2 separate regions of the Homo sapiens genome follow, and region 1 is linked to region 2. The links are contacts of gene promoters, found by promoter capture Hi-C in blood cells and fetal thymus (Javierre and others, 2016). All regions are on one chromosome and are shown on one strand. The core of a region is centred on a gene start or on the middle of the fragment in contact, and the rest is flanking DNA. Distances in the headings are between cores, read along the strand shown.

Region 1 (2,700 bases), core at 97-2,596, 2.0 Mb after region 2:
CTCTCTGACGATGCCCAACATACACACAAGGTAAAATCTATCTAATGACTACAGCAACAAATGGTGCGTTTAACCATTTCGGCCACTCACTGGCTGGAGAATCCTGGCTAAGTCACTTTCTCTGAGCTTCTATTTATCTTCTATACCAAGGTGGATAACAGCAATCTCTCCTTATGAGAAATGAGATATACACGAACTACTTCCTGTATAAAATATGTTAGATACACCAATACCAACAAGGCAAACAGAAAGACAAAAAAACCCTATGAAGAGATGGGGCTCCAAGCACTTGCTCAGCTCCTGTTTAAATTCTTTCTACCTTATCCGTTCTATTTGAAAAGGCATCTCAGCGTGCAAGGACCAGCCAAGGCCAGGGCAGGGCCCTCGGGGACATCTGGCCAGCACTTCAGGTTCTGGGGATGACTCAGGTGAGCCTCCCTCCCCAAGGGACCTCCTACACGCACACACACACCCCGAACCGGGGGCGGGCGAAGGAGGCCTGGCTGGTGGAGTCCTTTTCTGCGGCCCAGGCGTCGCAATATCCAGTCCCTCTCGTCCAAGGACGTGCAGGGTCTGTACTTGCCCAGTCGCACTGGGACTTCAAATTGGGGATGCAGACACGGCCCTGCTCCTGGTGTGCGCGAAGCCCGCTCAGCCGGCCAGCTCGCCTGCACGCCCGCCGCGTCCCTGGGCCCCAGGAGGGCCCCCGTATCCAGCTCCGACCAAACAGCAAGCCCGCAGTTGGCGAGCATCTTTCCCAGACCGGGAGCGGGGACAGAGCAGAGCAGACGGATCCGACCAGCGCACCACGGCGCCCCAGGGCCCTCCTACCGTCCTCGGCCCTCGGCCCCCCGTTCCCCGGCCACCGCGCGGGCTCCGCCGCTCCTGGGACGCGCACTGGCTCCGGCCCGGCGCCACCCTCTGCCCCTCTGTCACCCCGCACGGAGGCTCCCATCACCCAAGCCGCGCCCAGCCGTCGCCGCGCCGTTCCAGGAGGCCTCCGTCCTCTCCCTACTCCGCCCCGCAGGCCACACGGCGCCCCGGCCCCGCGCGCGGGCTGCCCCTCGGCGGCGCTTCCCCCCCGCGAGCCAGCAGAGGCGGTCAGCGGTCGGGTACCTGCGTCCAGTGGCGGCCCGTACAGCGCGAGTGCGGCCGAGAGCAATGCGACAACGACCGCGCCGGCGACGGCAGTTCCGGCCCCCGCGCGTGTGACCATCCCCGGGCCAAATGGAATCGACCTTACCTCGTCTGCAAGCCCGGATTGCCCCACAGCGAGGACCCAGGGCCATCGGGCAGCATTCCGGATTCCCAGCTGCCCCCGCGCCGTCGCCGGAAACACAGCCATTGGAAGCGTTTTCCGGTTTCCCGACCGCCTCCGCGCGGCTGTCGGCAGTGGGATCCCAACTCGCTCAATCACACCCGGTTCTAGATGATTGACAAGCGCGACGCCCAACCCGGCCTGGTCCCAGCTCTGGCCTAAGAGGTTCGGCTGGAAGGCAGGTTGAAGAGTTAACAACGATCTGGTTCAGGGTCTGGTTTGTGTTTATCGGCCCATTTTTAGGCTTGCGGCGTTATAGAAAATGATTTTGCTGGCAGGTGGAGTGCCGAGGCCCACTATGTGCCCCCAGTATAGCAGTCAGGTGCCTTTCTGCTCCAGGCGCAACCTCTGCCCTGAACCCCAAACCAGCTCGCTGCGAGGCCCCTTCGCTTTCCACCGTCTCAGGTCAGGGCAGCTCCATCACTCCAACGCTGAGGCCCAAACCCCTGGAAGGCATTCTGACCTCTCCTGCCCTCCCACCCACGCTCCTCCTGTGGCTGATGGCCTCTTACCTCCACTGCCGCCCTATTTGAAGCCACCGTCATGGTGCTAAAAGAAACTTGTGGGGCCAGGTGCGGTGGCTCGCGCGTGTGATCCCAATGCTTTGGGAGGCCAAGATGGAAGGATCGTTTGAGCCCAGGAGTTTGAGACCAGCCTGGACAACATAAGGAGACCCCCTTCTCTACCAAAATTTTTTTGGAAAATTAGCAGGGGATGGTGTGGCACACCTGTAGTCCAGCTACTTGAGAGGCTGAGGTGAAAGGATGGCTCAACATGTCAGAGGCCTTTTAACCAGAGCGATTCCATCTTGAATAGGGACTGGGTAAAATGAGGGTGAGACCTACTGGGCTGCATTCCCAGGGGGTTAGACATTCTTGGCCACAGGATGAGGTGGTGGGCACAAGATACAGGTCACAAAGACCGCACTGATAAGATGACACAGTAAAGAAACTGGCCCAAAGCCTACCAAAACCAAGATGGCCACAAAAGTGACCTCTGTGTCCTCATTGCTCATTATTTGCTGATTATAACGTATTAGCATGCTAAAGGACACTCCTACCAGCGCCATGAGAGTTTACAAATGCTATGGCAACATCAGGAAATTACTCTATATGGTCTAAAAAGGGGAGGAACCCTCAGTTCCAGCAATTGCCAACCTCTTTCCCAGAAAACTCATGAATAATCCCCTCCTTATTTAGCCTATAATCAAGAGATAACTATAACTATGTGTGGAGTTAGTTCCTGCCGGTGGGTTCATGGTCTCACTGACTTCAAGAATGAAGCTGCGGACCTTCACAGTGTTACAGCTCTTAAAGGTGGCATAGACCCAAAGAGTGAGCAGCAGCAAGATTTATTATGAAGAGGCCGGGCGTGGTGGCTCA
Region 2 (2,700 bases), core at 136-2,635:
GTTCCTCGTCATAGGGGGAATCAGATAAAACTAAGATTGTTAGGACTTACCCACCTTAATGTCAGTGTTTTCCTTATACCAGTGGTTCCAGAGTTTTTTTTTCTAGGGATAAACCACACATTCATACATTCCCATTGTTATAATTGGATTTTGAAATTCATTCATCATGAGCTAGAATGATATTTCTCAACCTAAGAACTTTTTTTTTTTTTTGAGACAGAGTCTCACTCTGGTCGCCCAGGCTGGAGTGCAGTGGTGTGATCTCGGCTCACTGCCAAGCTCTACCTTCCGGGTTCATGCCATTCTCCTGCCTCAGCCTCCCGAGTAGCTGGGACTACAGGCGCCCGCCACCACGCCTGGCTCATTTTTTGTATTTTTAGTAGAGACGGGGTTTCACTGTGTTAGCCAGGATGGTTTCGATCTCCTGACCTCGTGATGCACCCGCCTCGGCCTCCCGAAGTGCTGGGATTAGAGGTGTGAGCCACCGCGCCCAGCCAAAAACTTTTTTTTTTTTACATTGAAGATTCTTTGATATAAAAGTTTTGTCCCTTCTAAGAGACTGAAAAGCTTCTTTTCAGCAAAATTCTGTATCCTACTATCTTCCCATTTAGAACTGTGTCTAAAAGTGGGCTCTCAGATCCTGACAGGGTCCTCTCTGAATAAATAATTTATTTATTTATTTATTTGAGATGGAGTCTTGCTCTGTCACCTAGGCTGGAGTGCAGTGGCATGATCTGGGCTCACTGCAACCTCTGCCTCCTTCAAGTGATTCTCCTGCATCAGCCCCCCAAGTAGTTGGGATTACAGGTGTATGCCAGCACTCCTGGCTAATTTTTGTGTTTTTAGTAGAGATGGGGTTTCACCATGTGGCCAGGCTGGTCTCCAACTCCTGACCTCAAGTGATCTGCACCCCACCCCCCTGCCGCTTGGCCTCCCAAAGTGCTGGGATTACAGGCACGAGCCACTGCGCCCGGCCCTCTCTGAATAAATTATGTCATGAAGTCCATTAAAGGTGATGCTCTTTTTGCTATGTTCTAGATAGCTAGGATTGTCAAGCATTTATGATATAATTTTAAATTATGCTGCTATTTACTGAAGAATTTATAAATAGTAGCTTACCTTGTTCTTTCATTTGTTATACCTTAGTGAGCAAAGGAGCAATATTAATTACTACCTTTACAATATTTGGTGTTAAAAATTTGATTAGTGAGCATTTTATCTGGTAACTCCATAGAATATTTGATTAATTACCTTATTCTTTGATGACATATTACAATTGGCCTTATGCTTTTGTAATACATTTTTTTTAGTACTATGAAATCAAGGCATAATAGGTACTTGTTACTTTTAATGAGAATTTCATATGAATCACATTTTTATAAGGTATCTTTTAAAAAATTATACAGTTGACTTCAAGGGACCTTCAGAAGCAAAGCACCTACATATAATGGTGCTTGACAGTTTTACAAAGTTAGCATGACCATGATTTACCACCTTTTCCAACTTATAACATCTGTGAATTTGCTTGAAACACATACTGCCAGCCAGTCATAGTCAAATCCTGTCTCCATATCCCTGCCCCTCCTGGGAGCACATTTATTTATTATGTCTTTGCGTAATTATTCTTATCATTGGAAACAGTGTGCTTGATGTTAATGTTCAAATCTGTCAGAGGTAACACTTCTTTTCATAGCTACTTTGTAATCCTTTTTCTAACTATGAGGTAAAGAATACATAAAGAGGAATTTATATTAGATAAGTATTTCATCATAAATGTTCAGGTATGACTACAGTACACAGCATATTCGAAGATGATTGCCATAATATGCAAGACCTCTATGAGTGTCCTACAAGCCACTATCAGAAGATAAAGGATTATTGTTTTGGTGATTCAGTACCACAAGTGGTGTTGCTATTGGTTTCATGATTTTCCAAAATGGTAAAGAGCTTTTGATGAAGTTCCAAATACCATGTGATCTTCCTTTGGTTATATAATTACATTCTTGGGAAGATCAATGTGTATTACATGTATATTAAGATATACATTAGATGTGTATTAAAACTTCAGAGTTTCAGGCTTTGTTTCAAGTTGTACTTGATGGATTTACTATTTTTCAATAAGTTAAAATTTAAAAATTGTTTTGGCTTAAATTTCTAATATGGTAACTGTGGATAGATATAACCTACATAAACAAAAGCTTTTTGGAGTTCTCAATCGTAATAGTGTAAAGAAGCCCTGAGACCAAAGAGTTTGAGAACCACGCATCTAGAGTAATGTTTTTGTTGTTTTAGAGCATTGCTTTTCAACTAGAGCCATGCATTGGAATCGCCTGTGATTTCACAAGAACCTGATAACGTTGATTGCCTGTGGGAAGGGGAGCTGGTGGCCAGTGGTTGAGAACAGGACTTTTTATGGTATCTAACTTCATGCCTTTTCATTTTAAACTCTCTAAATGTGGGACTTACTCAGAATTAATATTGTGGGCTTCATCTCTAGGGCTTCTGATCCTGTAGGTGTCTGTTGGAGCTTGGCATCCGAAACATTAAAATGCGTGATAAGTTACTCTGACTTGCATCTGGAGTCAAGGGTGGCTAGTGTATGTGCTCTGTTCCTCTACTAAGCACTGTGGCTTACTCCCAACGCCCTCCTGACCCCTCCCCCATCCTTCAGAAAAGCAGAAGTGTGGAACATATAGTCCA

Evidence for each region. Contacts are between HindIII fragments. The CHiCAGO score rates a contact against its expected background, and 5 or more counts as called.
Region 1: a contact is called between the fragment with the promoter of NAXD here and a fragment that was not itself captured in region 2, in 1 of 17 cell types (naive CD8 T cells). The highest score is 5.7, in naive CD8 T cells.

The regions. Positions count from the first base shown.
Region 1 is chr13:110,614,191-110,616,890 of GRCh38, reverse strand. NAXD (NAD(P)HX dehydratase) reads right to left here and starts at 1,346. Exons shown (of 10, transcript NM_001242882.2): 1 at 1,244-1,346. The coding sequence starts at 1,289. NAXD-AS1 (NAXD antisense RNA 1) reads left to right here and starts at 538. Exons shown (of 1, transcript NR_182301.1): 1 at 538-2,700. RefSeq lists enhancers at 317-366, 387-436, 1,338-2,265 and silencers at 717-876, 887-1,136. The HindIII fragment of the contact is 4,814 bases long and covers 1-2,700 here.
Region 2 is chr13:112,583,754-112,586,453 of GRCh38, reverse strand. All of the region lies in intron 1 of TUBGCP3 (tubulin gamma complex component 3), which reads left to right. Among named protein-coding and RNA genes, the nearest start is that of TUBGCP3, 3.0 kb to the left of the region's middle. The HindIII fragment of the contact is 1,631 bases long and covers 570-2,200 here.